4 separate regions of the Homo sapiens genome follow, and regions 1, 2 and 4 are each linked to region 3. Evidence: promoter capture Hi-C in 16 types of primary human blood cells and fetal thymus (Javierre and others, 2016). All regions are on one chromosome and are shown on one strand. Each heading gives the region's core, a stretch centred on a gene start or on the middle of the fragment in contact. The rest is flanking DNA. Distances are from core to core; before and after follow the strand shown.

The links. Contacts are between HindIII fragments. The CHiCAGO score rates a contact against its expected background, and 5 or more counts as called.
Region 1: a contact is called between a fragment that was not itself captured here and the fragment with the promoter of PHB2 in region 3, in 2 of 17 cell types (total CD8 T cells and naive CD8 T cells). The highest score is 6.1, in total CD8 T cells.
Region 2: a fragment that was not itself captured here is called in contact with the fragment with the promoter of PHB2 in region 3 in 5 of 17 cell types (activated CD4 T cells, naive CD4 T cells, naive CD8 T cells and 2 more); the score reaches 7.6 in activated CD4 T cells.
Region 4: a contact is called between a fragment that was not itself captured here and the fragment with the promoter of PHB2 in region 3, in 1 of 17 cell types (activated CD4 T cells). The highest score is 5.5, in activated CD4 T cells.

The regions. Positions count from the first base shown.
Region 1 is chr12:8,068,495-8,074,421 of GRCh38, forward strand. No RefSeq gene overlaps it. Among named protein-coding and RNA genes, the nearest start is that of C3AR1, 5.1 kb to the left of the region's middle. The HindIII fragment of the contact is 681 bases long and covers 1,453-2,133 here.
Region 2 is chr12:8,023,099-8,028,456 of GRCh38, forward strand. No RefSeq gene overlaps it. Among named protein-coding and RNA genes, the nearest start is that of FOXJ2, 6.9 kb to the right of the region's middle. RefSeq lists an enhancer at 3,718-3,907. The HindIII fragment of the contact is 3,609 bases long and covers 509-4,117 here.
Region 3 is chr12:6,968,511-6,974,143 of GRCh38, forward strand. PHB2 (prohibitin 2) reads right to left here and starts at 2,154. Exons shown (of 10, transcript NM_001144831.2): 1 at 1,907-2,154; 2 at 1,686-1,770; 3 at 988-1,067; 4 at 1-85. The coding sequence starts at 2,033. It overlaps EMG1 (EMG1 N1-specific pseudouridine methyltransferase), which reads left to right and starts at 2,403. Exons shown (of 6, transcript NM_006331.8): 1 at 2,403-2,581. The coding sequence starts at 2,414. RefSeq lists enhancers at 2,078-2,680, 2,201-2,270, 2,361-2,540, 2,591-2,710. The HindIII fragment of the contact is 5,065 bases long and covers 725-5,633 here.
Region 4 is chr12:8,091,012-8,097,045 of GRCh38, forward strand. It overlaps NECAP1 (NECAP endocytosis associated 1), which reads left to right. Exons shown (of 8, transcript NM_015509.4): 4 at 758-839; 5 at 1,665-1,773; 6 at 1,861-2,044; 7 at 4,590-4,692; 8 at 5,031-6,034. The coding sequence ends at 5,079. Among named protein-coding and RNA genes, the nearest start is that of NECAP1, 12 kb to the left of the region's middle. The HindIII fragment of the contact is 851 bases long and covers 1,340-2,190 here.

The DNA.
Region 1 (5,927 bases), core at 543-3,042, 1.1 Mb after region 3:
GCAACTTCTGCCTCCTGGCTTCAATCGATTCTCCTGCCTCAGCCTCCCAAGTAGCTGGGATTACAGGTGCCCACAACCACACCTGGCTAATTTTTTGTATTTTTAGTAGAGACGGGGTTTCACCATGCTGGCCAGGCTGGTCTCGAACTCCTGCTCTCAGGTGATCTGCCCACCTCGGCCTCCCAAAGTCCTGGGATTACAGGCGTGAGCCACTGCGTGCGGTCCCAAATTATACTTTTTAAGTTGCTCCATATTATTCCACTTACTTAATTATTTTTCGTGGAATATTGTTTTTATCCAATTTTAAATGATTATAAACAAAACTCAATGAGCACTATAGTATTTACATGTATTTCTGTAGAATAGAGTTTTAGAATTGGAATTGCTAAGTCTAAGAGCACACACTTTTACATTTTGAAAGATACAGAATTTTCCACTAAAGAGACTTCACAAATTGTCACACTAAGTTCAGTACCATAAACATATACTCTGCTTCTGCTCCTGCTCCTGATACAGTGTGTTGCACTGCGGAAGATGGAGGAGGAATGAGAGATGTATATAACTGTAATACAGTAGGGGCTGTTAGGAGGGCACAATACACCCTGGGAATATGAAACCGTAAGAGACTAATTCTCATGGAAGCAAACCCACGATGATGCACTGAAGAGGTAGCATTGGGGCCATAAGGATGGGTAGAAATTTGTCAGGCAATAGTACTGTAAAATAATACCTTGTCTCTCTCTCTCCCCTACCATGAATTTCTTGTCTGTCTCCAGTGGCTGCTACCTTGCCTGGTATAACAGGTCTGTGGCACCAATAAGTGAATGAATGTTTGTTTGAAAAGGATGTTGACATCTGAATATAATTCAAATAATTAACTTGAGTCCTTAGAGTTGTTTCTGGCATGAATTCACTTTTACTAATTTCTCTCTCTCTAAAGATTACACAGCAATGTGGCTGGGTGTGGTGGCTCATGCCTGTAATCCCAGCACTTTGGGAGGCCAGGGCGGGCGGATCACCTGAGGTTAGGAGTTCGAGACCAGCCTGGCCAACGTGATGAAACCCTATCTCTACTAAAAATATAAAAATTTAGCTGGATGTTATACAGCAATTTAAACTGGTTCAAGAGCTCCCAGCTGTGTTCTTTGGATTTTTCAGGAAGAAAATTACTAAAAACTTGTTGTGAATAGTGCTCCTGTTTCTGGATGACCTCTCTCTCTTCTTAAAAAGTACTGGTTGTTTTGTGGTGTATTGTGGAAAGCTCTGAGGAAGTTATGTGATTCACTTCTGTTTTGTTCTATTCTGAATATCTAAATATAAATTTCTAAAAGCAGAGATCAGATGCTTTGGAAAAAAGAAAATTTGAATGTATGTTGCAAAGGCAGCCATATTAAAACCTTTTACCAGTCACTTGACTAATTCTACACTGTAATTGATGGAGATCTGTATTAAAGCTTGTTTGGCCAAAATAAAAATGTTAGAATCACAGATCTCTAGCTTGTTTTCTCTGAGAGAGTTAAATACATTATAAAGTTACTGTCCTTAAAGACTTCAACAAAAAATGATTAAATCCGTTATTAGATAATTTGTAGTAACCTATGCTCTAAATTAAATATAACTAAGTGCCAAAAACTGTGGATGACACAGACAAATGCAATGGCTGGTCAGCAAAGGGTAAGATTGATTGATGGTGGCTAGAATTAGCTGGAAAATTTTTATGGAAGAAAAGATTCATGAGGTGAATAGAGCACTAGACCAGGAATGTGGAGACATACATTTGACTTTCAGTTTTGTAATAACTACTCGACCTTGGGCTAGATACTTGACCTAGAAATTTGTTGTTGTTTTCTTAGGTGGAAAATTAAAGGTTGGATTAAATGGTCTTTCAGGTTTCTTTTACATCTAACAATCTATAATTCTCTCATTTGAGCAGGGAGATTGAAGCTGAGAGGGCATTTCAAGGGAAAAGCATGAGCACATATTAAGGGGGAGGTGAGCCCAACACAACTAAATGGCACAGGTACATGGCGTTGGTGGGAGTAAAAAGGGTATTCTAAGGACTAAGGGAGGGCAGGTAGAAAGCCTGGGTTTAAGTCTCAACTTTGCCACTTACTAATTGTGTTACTGAAAATAAGCTTCTCACACTGTATGTTCTCGTTTTCTTATCTGCAAAACAGGGACTGTGTCAGATATCATCTATCGATACTCAAGCCGCCCACACCCTTCCTTATTATCTATTAGAAACCTATGGACTATGTCTCCTCTACCTTCTCTCCAGCTGGGTTCTGAATAGGATCTTCCGGAAGGACATGTTCATGTGTCAATGGAAAGTAAGGAGAAAGGGGAACTATTGCTTTTAATTTCATAACTTGGTTGTGCACAGAGATTGCAAATCTATTTTAAAAGTAAAAGAGGCTGGGCGCGGTGGCTCATGCCTGTGTCCCAGCACTTTGGGAGGCCGAGGCGGGCGCATCATGAGGTCAGGAGATCGAGACCATCCTGGCTAACACAGTAAAACCCCGTCTCTACTAAAAATACATAAAGAAATTCGCCAGGCGTGGTGGTGGGCGCCTGTAGTCCCAGCTACTCTGGAGGCTAAGGCAGGAGAATGGCGTGAACCCGGCAGGCGGAGCTTGCAGTGAGCCGAGATCGCGCCACTGCACTCCAGCCTGGGTGACAGACCGATACTCCGTCTCAAAAAAATAAAAATAAAAAAATTTTAAAAAAAGTAAAAGAAAGCGGTCACTCACGCCTGTAACCCCAGCATTTTGGGAGGCCAAGGCAGGCAGATTGCCTGAGCCCAGGAGTTCAAGACCAGCCTGGGTAATATGGCAAAACCCCCCTCTACTAAAAATACAAAAAATCAGCTGGGCATGGTGGTGCACACCTGTAGACCCAGCTACTTGGGAGGCTGAGGCGGGAGGATGGCTTGAGCCTGGGAGGTTGAGGCTGTAGGGAGCTATGATAGTGCCACTGTACTCCAGCTCAGGCAACAAAGAACCTGTCTCAAAAAATAAATAAAAATAAAAATAAATAAAAGAACAAAGACTATGAAATAGAATAAACATTAAAATTGTTAAAGGAAAAGCAATATGGGAGAAAGGGATATCATTTAGCACCTGATTTCTGCAATGGAGGGGGCAGGTGTGGCAGCAGTGGCTGCTGGCTGCTGGAGGCTCCAGCAGGATTAATGGTTCCAGCAGCAAGCAGCAGCAGCAGCAGCAGGCCTGTGAGTTTAGATTCTTGTTAAGTGGCAGCAAGAACTCCCATCCTTAAAAGCAAGTGCATGCTTGCCTATTCTAGGTAATATCCTTTTCCATTTTTTCTCTTCCAATTGTAGGAAAGCATCCTCCTGCAGTAATTGATACACAGCTAATATCATCTTTTCACTTTTTATTCCTCTACTTCTTTTGACACTTCTGTAGCCAAGTCTTGTTTTTCTTTTTCTTTTCTTTTCTTTTTTTCTTTTGAGACAGGGTCTTGCTCTGTTGCCCAGGCTGGAGTGCAGTGGCTTGATTGTAGCTCACTGCAGCCTTGAACTCCTGGGCTCAAGTGATCCTCCTGCCTCAGCCTCCCGAGTGGCTGGGACTACAGGCATGCACCACCACATCCAGCTATTTTTAAATGTTGTTTTGCAGAGATGGGGTCTTACTATGTTGCTCAGACTGGTCTTGAACTCCTGGCCTCAACTCCCAAAATGCTATGATTACAGGCGTGAACCACGATGGCTGGCCCAAGTTCTTGTCTCATATATCCCTTTTGAAGTACCTACAATGGTTTTAGATTTCCTGGCTGGAAAATGACTAATTCAGGGAATATTCTCTACCTACTCTATAGTATTGTCAGGAGTAGATTAACAGACACACAAAGCTCTTAAAACAGTACCAGCATATACGGAACTTAACAAATATTAGCCATTATTATGTCAAAAAACTAATGTGAATTACAGTTGCTTATTAGATCAAAATTATTTTCCATCTTAGACAAGTGGCAAATAATTTACAAAATGTTCCCTTCCCAGTGTGAAATCATACCCTTTTTGTCAAGTCAAATTCTAACCTATGGCCCTCAAAGATGTAGATTAGATGTACTCTTTCCCCGCTAGAGTATAACTGCCTAATTATCCACATAGTTATGGTAAAGCCAAGTAGGAACACAAATTGAAGAACAAAGTTGCCCAGAAATTAAAAATAATTCAGTTAAAAAGTAAATAAAATAAAAAACTGTTAACTCTACCATAATAACAAGTATCTATGCCTGGATCTTGAAAGAAATCAGCCAAATTTGGCATGATAACTCAGACAAATCTTAGTGATTTAAAGAAAATCTAACAAACTTTGCTTATTCTATCGATTTATTGGTTTTTGACTTTCTATTATAGAGTGTATCTAGAATAGCCAGGTAGGAGAGGCTGAAGTGGAAGTAAACTGAATGTAGGTACATGTTTCATTAACACCCTTTGTGACTTTAGTTCTATAAAGGCAAAAGTGAACAAGGAGATAAGGGAGGAGACCACCCCTCATATTGTCTTATGCCCGATTTCTGCCTCCAAAGAAAGAAGAAGTAAAAACTAAAAGGCAGAAATGGAATCCACAAGCAGACAGCCTGGTGCCACACCCTGGGCCTGGTAGTTAAAGATCGACCACTGACCTAATTGGTTATGTTATTTATAGATTACAGACATTGTATAGAAAAGCACTGTGAAAATCCCTGTCCTGTTCTGTTCTGATCTAATGACAGTGCATGCAGCCCCTAGACACGTAACCCCTGCTTGCTCAATCGATCACGACCCTCTCAGGCGGACCCCCTTAGAGTTGTGAGCCCTTAAAAAGGACAGGAATTGCTCACTCAGGGAGCTCGGTTGTTGGAGACGTGAGTCTTGCTGAAGCTCCCAGCCGAATAAAGCCCTTCCTTCCCTTCTTTAACTCGGCGTCTGAGGGGTTTTGTCTGCGGCTTGTCCTGCTACAGAGACAAGTCTTCTGTGTATGTCCAACTGATCTAATGAGAAGTCATAGAAGCTTTTTTTTTGGAGGGGAGACAGAATAGAGGACTACTGAGGGGTAGATGGCTCTCGTCAATGTAGGTCAAGATATATTTTTGATACAAAAATTAGCCGGGCATGGTGGTGCAAGCCTGTAGTTCCAGCTACTAGGGAGGCTGAGGCAGGAGGATTGTTTGAACTTGGGAGGCAGAGGTTGCACTGAGCTGAGATCGTGCCACCGCACTCCAGCCTGGATGACAGAGGAGACTCCGTCTCAAAAAAAAAAAAAAAAAACAACAAAGAAGAAAATGTGTTCTCCATTTCTTTTCTCCTTTGCTCTTTCTTCTCCATTTCATTCCCACTAAAATGCAGGCAAAAGAAGGTGAAGACACATAAACATTTCAGATAAAATGCTCCTTCTAAATCTCTTCAAATCATACTACACTGGGCAGATTTGTTAGCCATTAGGAGAAAAGGTGTTTTTTTTGTTTTTTTTTTTTTTGAGATGGAGTCTCGCTCTGTCGCCAGGCTGGAGTGCAGTGGCATGATCTTGGCTCACTGCAATCTCTGCCTCCCGGGTTCAAGCGATTCCCCTGCCTCAGCCTCCCGAGTAGCTGGGACTACAGGCATGCACCACCACACCTGGCTAATTTTTAGTATTCTTTTAGTAGAGACAGGGTTTCACCGTGTTGGCCAGGATGGCGTCGATCTTCTGACCCTGTGATCCACCTGCCTCGGCCTCCCAAAGTGCTGGGATTACAGGCGTGAGCCACCGTGCCTAGCGAGAAAAGGTTTCAAAGTGGCAATTATATTTTAGTTGTTATGTTCTGTTGTATATCTTCTGAAGTGCCAAAATATCAATTGTATCATTGTTTATATTTCCCTAAACAAACATAATACTTATTTCAAATGCTAGTTAGTATTAGTAATAACGTACACAGGATGG
Region 2 (5,358 bases), core at 1,063-3,562, 1.1 Mb after region 3:
TTTTTGTTTGTTTTTGTTTTTGAGAAGGAGTCTCGCTTTGTCACCCAGGCTGGAGTGTGGAGTGCAGTGACACGATCTCAGCTCACTGTAACCTCTGCCTCCCAGGTTCAAGCGATTCTCCTGCCTCAGCCTCCCAAGTAGCTGGGATTACAGGTGCCCGCCACCACACCCGGCTAATTTTTGTATTTTTAGTGGAGATGGGGTTTTACCATGTTGGCCAGGCTGGTCTCGAACTCCTGACCTCAGGTGATCCACCTGCCTCGGCCTCCCAAAGTGCTGGGATTACAGGTGTGAGCCACTGTGCCCGGCGTTTCATGGCTGTTGAAAGGTGCTGAGGCTGTGTTAGCAACAGTAGCTGCCCAATTCCTTGATCACAACTAGGGCAGTAAGTTCTCCTTTTTTTCTTTATTTTTAATTTTTTTTCTTTCCATACTCATGTCAGTACAGGGGCATGTGTTCCTGAACTCAACAGCTGCAGCAATACAGTCTTGATTTCTCATCTTTCTAAAGCTTTCCTGGTGGGTGAATTTAGCAGCCTCATTCTTGGAGCCATTTCTGATATACAGCAGAAACCCCCTTTCTCCAGTACTTCCAACGATTTTGTAAGCACATTAAGCCCCAGTATTAAAGCCTTTCCTACTTAAGTGGTTTCTAGTTACTGCAGCCAGCCCTGACAGATCTAATACCTGATTGAGCAGTAGCCCACTGCCCTTTTCTTCTTTTTCTTCTTTCCATAAATGCCAAAGGCAATGCAACCCAGTGCTTTCATCCCTGGTCTTTTGAGGCCTGGTGTTTGTTTCTTGGGCTTCCAGGGATGAAAGAAACTCATGATTACTATTGTTTAAGAAGGGCAGGCAGCCAGGCTTCAGGAGGAATCATGAATTGAGGATTTTTCTAAGGCCTCAGGTTCTATGTAACTCAGTATGTCATGTTCTTACCAATCAAGGTACCACCCCTTTACAAATTGGAGGGCTTAGATCTATGGTTAGGACAATACCAGTTCTTTCCTTCTTCAGACTTGGTGTTGGGCTCTAGGTTCCCCTTGCTAAAAAAAATTTCTGCTTTTGCTTATTGCCCATCATCAGGGGGAAAGTGACAGTGCTGTAAGTGTATGAATTATTAGCCTAAAAATAATTTTTTGTATGTTTTTCATGATTTATTTAATATCACTAGGAACAAAGGGCACTTTTCCCTCAAACACAATTCTTGAAAATATTAACATCTCCCCTCTCTTTTGGCATAGGTAATATACACTTTATTATGCCAGAATTATTTACAGCCCAGTAATAATTTTTCCATGGCATTTTTGTTATTGCAAATATAGCTGCCTCCTGCTCCTTTCCTTGTTCCTAAACTATCGCCACAATGATACTAAAGAGCCAGTATTGTATATACTCTTTTGTAAACCACCTGACCTAGAAGACCCTAGAGAATCGTAAGATAGGATCTCTTTTGATAAGCAGAAAATACCGTTGCAGAATCTTGACCAATAGCCCCCGCAGAGTCTTGTGGTAGGGATAGTTATAATATGAAAGGGAAATTCTTGTCCTCAAGTTTAGAGCAGTTTTTAGACAATGTTAAAGCATCGCTGAGCTCTAAGTATAAGAAAAACTCTGGACTAGGCTGGGTGCAGGGGTTCATGCCTGTTATCCCAGCACTTTGGGAGGCCGAGGAGGGTGGATCACGAGGTCAAGAGATCGAGACTATCCTGGCCAACATGGTGAACACCCGCCTCTACTAAAGATACAAAAAAATTAGTTGGGTGTGGTGGCATACCTGTAGTCCCAGCTACTTGGGAGGCTGAGGCAGGAGAATCGCTTGAAGCCAGGAGGCAGAGGTTGCAGTGAGCCAAGATCACGCCACTGCACTCCAGACAGAGCAAGACTCTGTCTTAAAAAAAAAAGGAAAGAAAAACTCCGGACTAGAAAAAAAGTGTACATCATGCTAAGGAAGCAAATGATTCCATAACTAACATAGTATAGATGATACCTCTCAAGCTCTCAAATAATTTCTTCCTAGTCTCTTGCCTCAGATTGTAGGATAAACACTTTATGTTCCATTCACTGAATGTAGAGGACATCTTTTCACTAATCCCACCTATCTTTTCAATTTTTCCAGGAAGGTAGGTTGAGGGGAAATCTGCTTTCAAATTTTAAAGGCCTCAAGGTGTTAGGAGGAAAACAGCATTTTCTCATGGAAGTAGCATCTCAGGTAGGTTTGTGAAGTAGCATCTCAGGTAGGTTTGTGAAGCAGATCTACTTCAAGTCTCGCATTTTTAGGATTTTTCCAGCATTATTTTTTTATTTATGAGACGGAGTCTCGCTGTGTTGCCCAGGCTGGAATGCAGTGGCAACATCTCGGCTCACCGCAACCTCGCCTCCCTAGTTTAAGCGATTTCCGGCTAATTTTTGCATTTTTTAGCAGAGACTGGGTTTCACCATGTTGGACAGGCTGGTCTCGAAATCCTGACCTCAGGTGATCCGCCCGCCTTGGCCTCTCAAAGTGCTAGGATTACAGGCGTGAGCCACCGTGCCCAGCAGTGTACTTTATAAAAGTCTTCTCCCTCTGGTTTGGTTCACATCATCAGTTGACTACCTACTATGTATCCGACACTGCCGGGCACCAGAGATAAGATGTAGTTCTCAGCAAGGCGCGGTGGCTCACGCCTGTAATCCCAACATTTTGGAAGGCTGCGGTGGGCGGATCATTTGAGGTCAGAAGTTCGAGACCAGCCTGGCCAACATGGTGAAACCCCGTCTCTACTAAAAATACAAAAAACATTAGCTGGGCGTGGTGGCGGGCGCCTGTAGTCCCAGCTACTCGGGAGTCTGAGGCAGGAGAATCGTTTGAATCCCGGAGAGTGCAGTGAGCCGAAATCACGCTTCAGCCTGGGTGATGGACCGAGACCCTGTCTAAAGAAAAAAAATGAATAAAAAAAATAAAAAAAGATGTAGTTCTCTAACGAGGAAGGCTTCTGTATGTGATTAATGCCCTTCATTCAGAGAAATCTTTACAGTTCTTTTCACCTGCATCTACTCTCTCCAACTATTATACGAATGGTTTCTAACCCAACTGCTTGAATACTGTGATCCAGGGTCAGTCTTCAGCTTTCTAATATTAGAGAAACTTAGTTTTCCCTGTCCTTGTCTAAAGGCAGGGTGAAACCCTTTTCCTTTCCTCCGTGTCATTCATTCTCTTATGTAACGTAAACAAATGGGAAGTCTGGGACCAAAGGCTCATAAGAATTTAATTATCATGCAGATTCCAGAAAGCCAGTGTACACGCAGACTTCGGAGGCAGTAAACAGGAAACCATCGATCCCGTGCAGGAAATGACCTTGTTTGAAGGCAACGAAGGTGTCGCGGATTTCCCTCGTTTTCCTTCAGTTCCTTTCTAAACTCATTTCCGTGTTTCAATCAGTTTGGTCCTTCTCTACATTAACAGAGTCCCCCCGGCCCAGAGAGAATGGCAAACAGACCCTTCCCTTTAGTGGACATTTTTATGTCTTGTTTTACATCACTGCAAATCTCAGCCAATCAGTAGTTGGGGTAGGAGGTACCAAAATAATCCTCACTTCCTCCCCCAAATACCACCCCTCGCGTGCGTCATCCTGTGATAGATTACCAACGCAGCCAATCAACAAGCGATCTTGGGCCGGGCCTACCCGAACCCCAGCCAATTAAGAGGAAGATGAAGAATTGGGGCGGAGGATGGAAAACTTGCCACCTCTTTTGGAAATGATTTGAAGAGGTGCGTCCGGAACGAGGGAAACTTACGACTTTTGCTAACGATCGCGGCGTGCTGTGTATCTCCTGTGCCAGTTCTGTCTCCCCAAGACCCCACCCCAAGATGGGCCCCATGGCCCACGTACCCGGCCCCCAGTTTCAGTAGGACGTGTCCTTATCCCTGAGGTCCTCCAGAAAGGAACCCAACCCCAATGGCCCGTGCTTCACACGCTCCTCCCCGCGCCGGTGGAGTAGGGGGCAGGAGAGACCTGCTGCCTCTGGCGCCAACCTTTCCATTCAGTGCGTCTTTCCTGCCTAGCCCACGTTCCCGGGCCGGAGCTGACACGGGGGTGGGAGGAGCCGAGTGCTTGCTCGTCTTGGGCAGAGGCGAAAGCTTCTTAAGGTGGAACAGGAATGTTGGGCTGCTGGGCCTCTACCGCTGGGATGTGCCGGCCCCTGCTTCCCAACCTCGCCTCCCAGTTTTTCATCTCTTGTTCCCTGGCTCCAGTCTAATTTTTAGGGGAGTGGAAATCAAACAGGCTGGGAAGAGGATAGAAAAATAACGTAGAAAAGCTGGGCGCGGTGGCTCACGCCTGTAATCCCAGCACTTTGGGAGGCCAAGACGGGCGGATCACGAGGTCAGGAGATCGAGACCACCCTGGCTAACACGGTGAAAACCCGTCTCTACTAAAAATACAAAAAATTAGCCGGGCGTGGTGGCAGGCGCCTGTAGTCCCAGCTACTCGGGAGGCTGAGGCAGGAGAATGGCGTGAACCCGGGAGGCGGAGCTTGCAGTGAGTCGAGATCGTGCCACCGCACTCCAGCCTGGGCGACAAGAGCGAAAACTCCGTCTCAAAAAAAAAAAAAAAAAAAAAAGGAAAGTTAACGTAGAAAACTGTAAATAATAAACAGTTATGTAAAGGAAATACAAACTATACAGATAACTTCACCTTTATGATTTAATATCTTGCGTTCTATTCCCCCCATTACTTTTTATTTTTTCAATTCCCATAGAGTCAATGGTGACCCCATTATCTTTTAAAGTAGCAGTTAGAATTTTTCTGATGGTGCAAATGTAAGCTCATATTTTGTCTGATAAATATTACTAAATGAATCGTTTCTATGTTGGTTTAGTTTCTCTCTAATAGACCTGACTAGAGTCATTAAAAGAGGTCAGAACTCTGTGTCTAGTGGCGGCAGGCTACCCCCTACTCCGTTGATCACAGGTCCCCAGGAATCTGGAAGAGTGGAGATGCGGTCTTGGCTGTGGTTCAGTTGTCTCATTTGTAAATGGGAATAACATTTCCCCACCTCGTAGGTTTAGTGTCAATCCTAAAAGACCTAGTGTAAATGAAAACATTGTAATCTGAAAGGTGTAAACAGACATTAGGTAGTATTACACATACAAAGCATATAATAATAGTAAACATAGTCCTAGCTATGTTCCAGCATTTTTAAACAGTACTTTAAATTTAATTTTTATTTTTTGAGATGGAGTCTCCGATCTGTCGCCCAGGCTGGAGTGCAGTAGCGCGATCTTGGCTTACTGCAACCTCTGCCTCCCAGGCTCAAGCGATTCTTCTTCCTCAGCCACCCGAGTAGCTGGAGCTACAGGTGCGTGCCGCCACACCCG
Region 3 (5,633 bases), core at 904-3,403:
AGCCCTAGGCGCTGGTACATGCTAGGAAGCTCCTGAGCATTGGGTCGAGACAACACTCGCAGGGAGATATTCACCATCTGTAGGTCTGAGATTGAGGTCAGCAGTGGCTGGTCAAGGCCAAACACCCTTTCCCAAGCATTTTCTCCTTCATGTTCCTCCCTGTATGCCCTGTGCAATGGTGTACAGCCTGGCACTACCCTGGGGGGAGGAGAGTTAATCAGGCTGACAAGGAAGACAAGACGCAGCACAGCTGAAATGCACCCTCACCCACTGTGAAGCCTTGAACTGCAAACCCCGTCACCAGCAGAGCTGACTACTCTTTCCCCCTCTGTACTCTGTGCAACCTCTAACGTGGGCGCTTTCGTGCTGTACCGTAATCATGTCTCCTGTAAGGACTTGGGGGACAAGAATTGTGTTTAATGAATCTTTTATTCCCAGGGCCCAGTCTAGTAAATGAATAAGCGACCTGCACTAGGTATAGCACAAAGAAGTACATTACAGGTTACAGGTGAGCTACCTGACCCAGGGTGTATATGTGTGCGTGGGTGGGGAGGAGGAAGAGGTCTGGGGAACTCAAAGGCACGGCTTTTATGTATGGTCTAGAAGGAGAGAACAGGTGAACTAGTCAAGCTTAGGGACAAACTTCTCCAGAACAGAGTGTACTAGTGGATGTAACTGTAGATATAGTAAGTCAAGCAGTTAGAAAAAAAAGGCTTTAAAACAAAGCTTTGATCTAGGCAGTGAACAAGACGAGGGACAAACAATACTCTTATTGAATACACGTCAGGGAGGAGACAGTAAAAAGCACGCAAACACAGTGTGTTCAGAATTTGCTGCTTTGACCCCAGGAGGCAGGTATTTTTGTTACAGCTCTTGCAGATGTGGAAAGAGGCCTAAAGGCCTGACACTACCATATTCCCCTGGGGTTTCTTGCCAGCTACCTTGATCATCCCACCTGCCATGTGATTACCAAGTGCTCAGACCTACCTTTGGAGCCTGTAGGGGAGGAGATTTTTCGAGGTCTGGCCCGAATGTCATAGATAATGGGGTACTGGAACCAAGGGATCCTGGAGAGGACAGGGATAGGTATTAAGAGGCCACAGTTTCGGCCGGGCGCGGTGGCTCACGCCTGTAATCCCAGCACTTTGGGAGGCCGAGGCGGGCGGATCATTTGAGGTCAGGAGTTCGAGACCAGCTTGATCTACATAGTGAAACCCCGTCTCTACTAAAATACAAAAATTAGCCGGGCGTGGTGGCGGGCGCCTGTAATCCCAGCTACTCGTGAGGCTGAGGCAGGAGAATCGCTTGAAATCAGGAGGCGGAGGTTGCAGTGAGCCGAGATCGCGCCACTGCACTCCAGCCTGGGCGACAGAGCAAGACTCCCTCTCCAAAAAAAAAAAAAGAAAAGGCCGCAGTTTCACTAGCCTTGCCCGGTTTCCCCTCACCACGCGTTTTTTGGCCTGCTCCTCTCCACGACCACAGACAAGGAGAGATTCTCTTGTCCCTCTGGAAAACAACAGTTTGTATGCTGCTGGAGGTTCTCGCAGCACCCACTATCCTAGGGGCAGGGATGAGGAGGGTGGGAAAAGAGCAGCGTTGAATCCTGTTGCACGTCCGACTATAGCCACTGCTGGGTCGGCGTCAAGGGTGAAAGGTCAGGGTCAGCAGGCTCTGCCCGCCATTACCTGAAGTGAAGGCCCTCGGCCAGGATAGTGTCCTGCTGCACTCCACCGATCCGATTGAAGAAGATGGCTCTGTGCCCGCCTTCCACTGTGGGGAGATGGGTGGTGATCAGGCCAGGCCGCTGCTCAGAGGAAATGCTAGGCCCGTGGAGGGGCGCGGGGACAGGGCAAGGGGTTTGGGGGAGGGACTGGAAGCGTCCGGCGAGCAGGCGGAGGTTGCTCACCGGTGAACACAGATTCGCGCACACCGTAGGCCACGGCGCCGGCCCCCAGCAACAGCTTCAGGGCCGTGCCCATGCCCCGGGGCCCGGCGGGCAGCCGTCCCGCCAAGTCCTTCAAGTTCTGGGCCATGTCTGATCTTGAGGCCGGCGGCACTGGAGGTCAGAAGGGGGTGCCGGCCCGCCTCTACCCCGCTCCGGCTTAGGTACTGCACCCTTCACACGAGGGTTCGGGCCCGTAAGGCTGGCGAAAGAAAGGGCAGCGGAAGTGCGCTCCCTTTGAAACCCTCCCCCTTAGCCCACTACGGACCCGAACTTCGCGCACAGGAATCGCGCATACGGAAGTCCCGCCCCTTTCTGGAAGGCTGCCCTCCCAGGGAGGGCAGCGCAAGACAGCAAGTCATCTCCATTTCCTGGCCCACTTTCAAAATGGCAGCCGGAAGGAAATTTGTGATTAGAAGCCGCGCTGTTCTTATTTAAGAGCGTTAGCGCAACTTCCGGTATTGTTGCAAGATGGCCGCGCCCAGTGATGGATTCAAGCCTCGTGAACGAAGCGGTGGGGAGCAGGCACAGGACTGGGATGCTCTGCCACCCAAGCGGCCCCGACTAGGGGCAGGAAACAAGATCGGAGGCCGTAGGCTTATTGTGGTGCTGGAAGGGGCCAGTCTGGAGACAGTCAAGGTAGTTTGGGACAGGAAGTGGAGAAGTAGTAAATCGATAGGTTGGGACTCCGTGGAATGAGGGTAAGGGGCCCAGAGTGGATGTAGAAAGCAGAGAGGGGTGAAAGATGCTTTTGAAGGAAGGTGGCTTGGTTGGCTTTGCGTTGATTTGACATCCTGGGATGGTAGTACTCATTTTTCTTTCTTTTTTTTTTTTTTTTTGAGACGGAGTCTCGCTCTGTCGCCCAGGCTGGAGTGCAGTTGCGCGACCTCGGCTCACTGCAACTTCTGCCTCCCGCCTTCAAACAGTTCTCCTGACTCAGCCTCTGGAGTAGCTGGGACTACAGGCAGGTGCCACCACGCCCGGCTAATTTTTTTGTATTTTTAGTTCAGATGGGGTTTCACCATGTTGGCCACGCTGGTCTCGAACTCCTGACCTCAAGTGATCCGCCCGCCTCGGCCTCCCAAAGTGTTGGGATTAGAGGCGTGAGCCACTGTGCCCGGCCGGTAGTACTCATTTTCTTTTGCTCTTTTTGAATGATATTCTAGCCCTCACCTCCTTGCTTCCAATTGGTTTACCAGGATTCTGTGGTATAGTAGTCTAAGCAGAGGAAAGTTTCGTTCCTTGCGTCATTCCACATCCCAAGACAAGTTACTGGGCAGATGAGAAACGTAGTTATGTAGCCTAGTCTGCCCACACTTTTTGTAAGGGCTTCGTGTTTCAATTCATTAGTATCCATAGTCACCTCTCTCTAATATCCACCTATGATACACTGTCCAGACCTGGTTATTATTTAAAACTTTTACATCTGCATTTTTATCTATCATTCATCTCTTTCCCCACATGTAATAGAACCAGCAGTTCTCTATCTTAAAGCCTTGGGCAGTGTTCTTCCTCCTCCTTTCTCTTACCCGTTAGAACTAATTGAATAGGCCCAGAAGAAATCGCATTGGTTTAGAAGTCAGGCCAGGATTTTAATCTTCGTTCTAAATACACTTTTTTTTTTTTTTTTTTTTGAGATGGAGTCTCAGTCTCTACCAGGCTGGAGTGCAGTGGCACGATCTTGGCTCACTGCAGCCTCCGCCTCCCGGGTTCAATCGATTCTCCTGCCTCAGCCTCCAGAGTAGCTGGGATTACAGGCCTGCGCCTGTAATCTATTAAAAGAATAGAAAACATGATTATATCCTACTAATGGGTTGAAACTGTATTATTCATTCAAGAAGGTTTTTTTCTTCTATAACTAAGGGTGTCTCATGGACTTAGTTCTTGGTCATTTGTTCTTTGTGCTCTCTGTGACATTACTTCAACTATTCAATTTCAAAATCTACATCCCTTTTTTCGCAGACTTTTTGGAGCCATATATCTCAAGAATGTTGCTAGACATATACATTCCAGTGATACATAAAAACTTAACCTTCCAAAACTTGTATTTGTATATAACAGTTTGTTTTTAGACTTTTTACTGACCACCCTAATGCTCCTTGGGACTCCAAATTGCAACTTGGAATTATTTCTTTTAGCTGCTACAGATGTAGTCCACTTCTTTAACATCAAACTTCTGATGTCTTTTCCAGTGTACAGAGAGTTGTTAGGATAGTGTCTGTCAGTCATTCCCATCCTGCCCTGCTTACTCCAGAATTATTTTTGGCTTTGTGCTTGATACATTAGGATTCTGTGGTTTACAAAGCAGCTTCATATATAATCACTGCCCTTTAGTGTCTCAGCTCCCAATTTTCCTCAAAATTTCCTTTCTTCGTTTCCACTTTTTCTTTTTTGTTTCTTTTTTGAGATAGGGTCTTGCTCTGTTGCCTGGGCAACAGAGTGCAGTGGTGTGATGGTTCACTGCAGCCTCTACTTCCCTGGCTCAAGCAGTCCTCCCACCTCATCCTCCTGAGTAACTGGGACTGCCAGCAAATGGCACTGCGCCTGGCTAATTTTTTTTTTTTTTTTTGTGAGACAGGGTCCCACCGTGTTGCCCAGGCCGGTCTCAAATTCCTGGGCTCAAGTGATCCTTCCACCTCGGCCTCCTAAAGTGTTGGGATCACAGGCATAAGCCACCACACCTGGCTACTTTGTCTTGATTCCATCTGTACCTTTGCTCATGCCAGTCTTTCTTTTTTCTTTTTTTTGAGACAGGGTCTTGCTGGAGTGCAGTGGTACAGTCTTGGCTCACTGCAATCTCTGTCTCCTGGGCTCAAGCCATCCTCCCACCTTAGCCTCCCAAGTAGCTAGGACTACAGGCATGTGCCACCATGCCCAGCTAATTTTTGTATTTTTAGTAGAGATGGGGTTTCGCCATGTTGCCCAGGCTGGTCTTGAACTCCTGACCTTAAGTGATTTGCCTGCCTTGGCCTCCCAGAGTGCTGGGATTACAGCCGTGAGCCACTGCATCTGCCCCCATGCCCGTCTTAAAACTGGGAATAACCCCTCTTCCTTTTACTTCTGAGAGTTTTCTTTGATTAAACTGCCTCCTGCATCATTAGTTTTCACATTTCTTTTTTTTGAGATGGAGTCTCGCTCTGTTGCCCGGGCTGGAGTGCAGTGGCGCTGCAAGCTCCGCCTCCTGGGTTCATGCCATTCTCCTGCCTCTGCCTCCCAAGTAGCTGGGACTACAGGCGCCTGCCACCATGCCCGGCTAATTTTTTATATTTTTAGTAGAGATGGGGTTTCACCGTGTTAGCCACGATGGTCTCAATCTCCTGACCTTGTGATCTGCCCGCCTCGGCCTCCCAAAGTGCTGGGATTACAGGCGTGAGCCACCACGCCCGGCCTTCACATTTCTTGTTCAGATTTGCAGCTCTTCACTTAGTGCATGTTTGGTGTACGCAAACTGAGGGTGGTGACTCGATATTTTGCACAGTACCTACTTACTGCTCCTGTAATAAACACAGCATTCAGCCTTGCTAACTACTAACTCCTGCCTAGTTCCAGGATGTCTCATTGGCCTTGCCTAACAGCCACAGGTTTTTTAATTAAATCCAGTGTATTAGTAGATAATGTGAAGTCACAGGTTGTGCCCTTCCTCCTGTTTCCCTCTCAGACCATTCACTGGGGAGTGCAAATAAGGCTGCAC
Region 4 (6,034 bases), core at 515-3,014, 1.1 Mb after region 3:
TAGTGTGAAATCACTGTAGAAAATATGTAAACACATTGATACCACTATGTTCCATGAAACTTCTTCTACAAAACCAGGCTATGGCAGGATAAAGCCCATGGGCTCTATGTAGTTTATCGACTCTTGGTCTATGAGAAGATATTTCACATTCAGACTTTGTCTAGTTAGGGTGACTGTTATATTTTCATTGGGCAAAATTTGCCATAGAGCAGCAGTCCTCAACCTTTTTGGCACCAGGGACCCGTTTTGTGGAAGACAGTTTTCCACAGACCGGCATTAGGGGATGGTTTCAGGATGATTCAAGTGCATCACATTTATTGTACACTTTATTTCTATTATTATTACATTGTAATGTATAATGAAATAATTATACAACTCACTATAATGTAGAATCAGCGGGAGCCTTGGGCTTGTTTTCCTGCAACTAGACGGGGGTGATGGGAGACAGTGACAGATCATCAGGCATCAGATTCTCATAGGGAGCTCATAACCTAGATCCCTCACATGTGCAGTTCACAGTAGGGTTCACACCCCTCTGAGAATCTAATGCTGCCACTGATCTGACAGGAGGCGGAGCTCAGGTGGTCATGCAAGTGACGGGGAGCGGCTGTAAATACAATGAAGCTTTGCTCTCTCGTGTGCAACTCACCTCCTGCTGCATGGCCTGGTTTCTAACAGGCCACAGACTGGTGCCGGGGGTTGGGGGCTCCTGCCATAGAGGATACTTCCTAGTCGAGTCTTCCTACGTTTTCCACAGGGCGCAGTGCTTTCATTGGCATTGGCTTCACAGATCGGGGAGATGCCTTCGACTTTAATGTCTCCTTGCAGGATCACTTCAAGTGAGTGAAGCTTGTCCTTAGTTACGAGGCTGAATGCTTATAGGAATGCTGCTTCTCACATGAATGGGCAGTATCTCTTTTCCTCCTGGTTTCTTTGTTTCTTAAACTATTTCATTGTGAATATAAATCTCCCCATTCACTTTTGTTTCCTTAGGTCATCTTTGTATCTATTCTGTTTCCTTTCCTTATAGCCTGCAATATATTTCAGATCCCTTGTGCAGTAGTTTGAAATGATGCTCTGTCGAATTTGCCCCGTCTTTTAGGTGGTAGAGGGAGGCCTATGGTAACAGCAGGGCTTTATGTGGGGAGTCGTGTGCCACTCTTGTTACCTTATGTAGCTGACATGTTTTGTGACTTTTGCAACATTTCTTTAGCCCACTTGATTTTGGTGCAGCTGTGGTTGACAGCACTGTGCACACTGTCAGCTTCCTACCTCAAGAGCAAGCATATCTCTCCTTTTCTGCCTTAGGACTCTCTGAAGTTATAGAAAGCTAAGAGCAAGCTTTAACTTGGAAAGACTAAGAAACTAACACCCCCTCAGGAGCAGCCCTCAACTGTGGGGAATGGGAATTGGTGGCTAAATACCATCCTTCTGGAAGGGGCAATTCTAATACGTATTCCGTGAGATTTCTCAGAGAGTCCCCAGTGGAATTGAACCCCAGTTGTTTTCTTTCTTGGCTTTTTTCCCTTCTGTTTCTCACTCTTTTTTATCTCTCACTGTGTTTTCTGGAATCTCATTTCATAAAAGTAAATACACCCAAATTTGTATGTCAGACTCTGCTTTCAGGAAATCTCAAACTAAGATAACTTGCTGTGTTCCCAAAGGTGGGTAAAGCAGGAATCTGAGATTTCCAAGGAATCTCAAGAAATGGATGCTCGTCCTAAGTTGGATCTGGGCTTCAAGGAAGGACAAACCATCAAGTTGTGTATCGGGGTGAGTATGGTTTTTAAAAATTTTGTTTTCCTGTGCTTCCATAAGCCTATGACATCTTTCTCTTGCTCTTCTTTTTTTCTTTTGTAGAACATTACAAACAAGAAAGGAGGTGCTTCTAAGCCCAGGACTGCAAGGGGTGGGGGTCTGAGCTTACTCCCACCCCCGCCAGGAGGCAAAGTCACTATTCCCCCACCATCCTCCTCAGTTGCCATCAGCAATCATGTCACCCCACCACCCATTCCGAAATCTAACCATGGAGGCAGTGATGCAGGTAAATCTAGTACTTCTAATTTTGAGAAATCCAATCTTATGTTTTAATTAAGCAACACCTGTTTGTCAAGGAGAGTTAATGTTTTTGCTATGAAATAGCTCATGGTACTGACAAGGTGATTCTGTCAGCTTCTAGCAAGGAATCAAAGCTTTTCTAGTGAACTAAGAGTCATAGTATCTCATAGGTTCTTTGGCAGAAAATATTTGCTTATTAAAATGACAATTTCCTTCATTTTTTTCTTGGTTAGATGCTTATAAGCTTTTGAGTCAGATGGACCAAGATTTTGGTCATGGCTCTGCTACTTTATATTTGAATGTGCTTGGTAAACATTACTTAAGTTTTTTGAGTTTCAATTGCCTTATCTACAAACTGGAGATGTAAAACCACCCCAGCGGGGACCTTGGCTCATGCCTGTAATCCCAGCACTTTGGGAGGCTGAGGTGGGTGGATTGCTTAAGCTTAGGAGTTTGAGATCAGCCTGGGCAACATGATGAAATCCCATCTCTACAAAAAAAATACAAACATTAGTTGGACGTGGTGGTGCACGCCTGTAGACCCAGCTATTTGGGAGGCTGAGGTGGGAGGATGGCTTGAGTCTGGGAGGCTGCAGTGAACCATGATTGTGCCACTGTACTCCAGTGTGGGTGACAGAGTGGGACCTTGTCTCATAAAAAAACAAAGAAACAAACAAAAATAAATAAATAAATAAATAGATAAAATAAAATAATTACCACCCCAAGGTCATGAGGGTTAAATGATTGACAGCACCTAGCATAGCACTTGGAACATAGTAGGCATTTAGTAAATGTTATTAAACTTTCCCATTTCTTCACAAGAGCAATTGGGAGAAAAGAAGATATCTAGGTTTGTCCATACACTTTCATTCTTTCTTTCTGTTTGGTGGGAGAAAGAATAAATATGGTTATATCTTCTCATTTGAAAAATGAGAGCATTGGAACTGAGAAAAGAATTTTTCTGAGATTAGAGAACTGTGTCTTAGAATCTGAGAATTTTAACTTAATGTATTGGACAGTGCAGATAATTTGTTGAATTGATTACTAAGGGTAAGCTTTCTCTTTCTGGAATTTTTGAGGTGAAAATATTATAGCCTGCTTCTTTTGGTAAGTGTTGCCAGAAGCCACTGGGGATAGTATCTAAGATTTTTTTTAAATTAAATTATTATTTTGAGATAATCGTAGATTAACATGCAGTTGTAAGAAATAATATGAAGAGATCCTGTTTACCCTTTTCCCAGTTTCCCTCAATTGGTAATATTTTGTGGAACTATTGTCAAGTATCACAAATGAAAAATTGATGTTGATACCACTTTCTCATCTTACTCAGCTTACACCATTTTACATGTTCTCATCTGTGTATATTTGTGTGGATCTGTATATTTAGTTCTATGCAGGATTTTTTGTTATTTTTTGAGATAGGGTCTCACACTGTTGCCCAGGCTAGAGTACAGTGGTGCAGTCATAGCTCACTGCAGCCTCAAACTCCTGGGCTCAAGAGATCCTTCTGCGTCAGCCTCCCAAACATCTGGGACTACAGGTGCACACTGCCACACCAAGCTAATTTTTTAATTTTTGTAGCAACAGAGTCTCACTACGTTGCCCAGGCTGGCCTTGAACTTCTGGACTTCAGTGATCCTCCTGCCTTGGCCCCCTAAAATGCTGGGATTACAGGTGTGAGCCACTGCATCTGGCCAGTTCTTTGCAGTTTTGTCATGTGTAGGTTCATGGATCCACCATCATTTCAGGTTATAGAACAGTTTAATCACTACAAAGATCCCCTGTGTCAACCTTACACAACCACACCCATCTCCCTCTCATCCTTTCTTCCCCCATTCCTAACGCTTGGCAATCACCAGTCTGTTCTCCATCTTTATAATTTTGTCACTTCAGGAATGTTCTATGAAAGGAATCATACAGCATGTAACCTTTGGGACAGGCTTTTCCCACTCAGCATAATTCCCTTGAGATTCATTCAAGTTGTGTGTCAATAGTCTGTTTCTTTTTATTGCTGAATAGTATTCCATGGTATGGATATACCAGTGTGTGTAACTATTGCCCATGGAATGACATCTAGGTTGTTTACAGTTTTTGACCATTATGAATAAAGCTGCCGTGGCATTTGTATACAGATTTTTGTGCAAACATAAATTCTCATCTCCAAGATTTTTTTTTTTTTTTTTTTTTTTTGAGACGGAGTCTCGCTCTGTCGCCCAGGCCGGACTGCGGACTGCAGTGGCGCAATCTCGGCTCACTGCAAGCTCCGCTTCCCGGGTTCACGCCATTCTCCTGCCTCAGCCTCCCGAGTAGCTGGGACTACAGGCGCCCGCCACCGCGCCCGGCTAATTTTTTGTATTTTTAGTAGAGACGGGGTTTCACCTTGTTAGCCAGGATGGTCTCGATCTCCTGACCTCATGATCCACCCGCCTCGGCCTCCCAAAGTGCTGGGATTACAGGCGTGAGCCACCGCGCCCGGCCCTTCCAAGATTTTGATTATGTTTTTCTTTTTTCTTTTCTTACCTTGTGTTTAGATATCCTTTTAGATTTGGATTCTCCTGCTCCTGTCACGACACCAGCACCAACTCCAGTTTCTGTAAGCAATGACTTGTGGGGAGACTTCAGCACTGCCTCCAGGTAATGGGCATAGTGAAACTAGCATACTCTCAATCAGGGTGTAGGAGATATGTACAGTCAATTGAAATCTTTGATCTGGAGAAGCAATGGATATGCAGGTCACATAGAGTCTTTTGGAAGAGTTCTAGTGAAGGAAATATAGTAGTGCTGGGAATGGGGGGACAAAAAAGCTGTAGGATGAGGTTTGAGTGGGATATTTCAGGCCTTTGTAAGTAGAATTGCCATGAAGTGTGGTTTTGGAAATTCTAGGCAGTGATTTCTTAGAAACTATTAAGTAAAGAATGGAGTTGTTATCCTAATATTATGTCTCTGGCTTTCTCTGTTCTCCTGTCTTGCAGCTCTGTTCCAAACCAGGCACCACAGCCATCCAACTGGGTCCAGTTCTGAATGGCATTGGCAGGACATTAAGGACAGACTTGAGGAATAAAAATGACCTTGAGGGCACCAATCTGTGAGGGAAGTTAGGAACCCATTTCCTCCCCAGAACCAGAATGACTGGACAATCTTTTTCATAGCTTCTCCATCACATTCAAGCTGGTTTATGTCACTCCCCTGTGTTGTTACTTGTACAGCCAAGAAAGTATCTGTTATCTCCTGCGTAGTACCAAGGTAGGGGACTAGTGGATCTTATCATAGTTTTGGCTGACTATGCAGGGCTTAAAAGGCCAGCGTCTGTTTGAGGGGGAATGACCTCTAACATCTGTAAAATTTGTCTCATCTTTTAATTTCTTTAACTTATTTCAAAATCATCTCATGACCCTTGTGTGCCTCTTTGTGAAGCCCTATTTAGCAATTTCAGGGGAGTCAAAAACCTTGCAACTTCCTTCTCCACTAACCCAGGACTAAAAATGGACAGGCTGACCTCAGTGTTTACAAATTCAGAATTTTGATAGGGGTAGATATGGAGAAAGACCTATTTCCTGGGTCTCTGCTGTGTAGTCTCCTTCAGGCTTATTGTGCTCAGTGAACATCCAGTGCTGGGTGCAGCTCCATCACCCTCTTGTGTGTTTACATGTCTCTTTCTATGATAAGAGGGTTGTGTTGGTGGCACCTCCACTACTCTTTTCTGTTTGTTGAGTTTGAATTGTGTTAACATCTTTGATCAGTGGGTGTATCTGTAATGAAGGAGGTTCAAGAGGCTGTGCTTTCCAAGTGATAGTCTATAGGAGTGTTTAATTTCTTGCAGCTCCATCTGGTTGCTGCATTTGAAGCATGGCATTAATTTGTATTTGCCCTGTTCTTTGACCTAAAGTTGAAGGGTTTAGAGTTTTTAACCTGATCTGTAGAGCAGAGAGGTTGAAAGCACTTAACTCTTGTTTAGTATCCTCATTGCCTTGCTGCC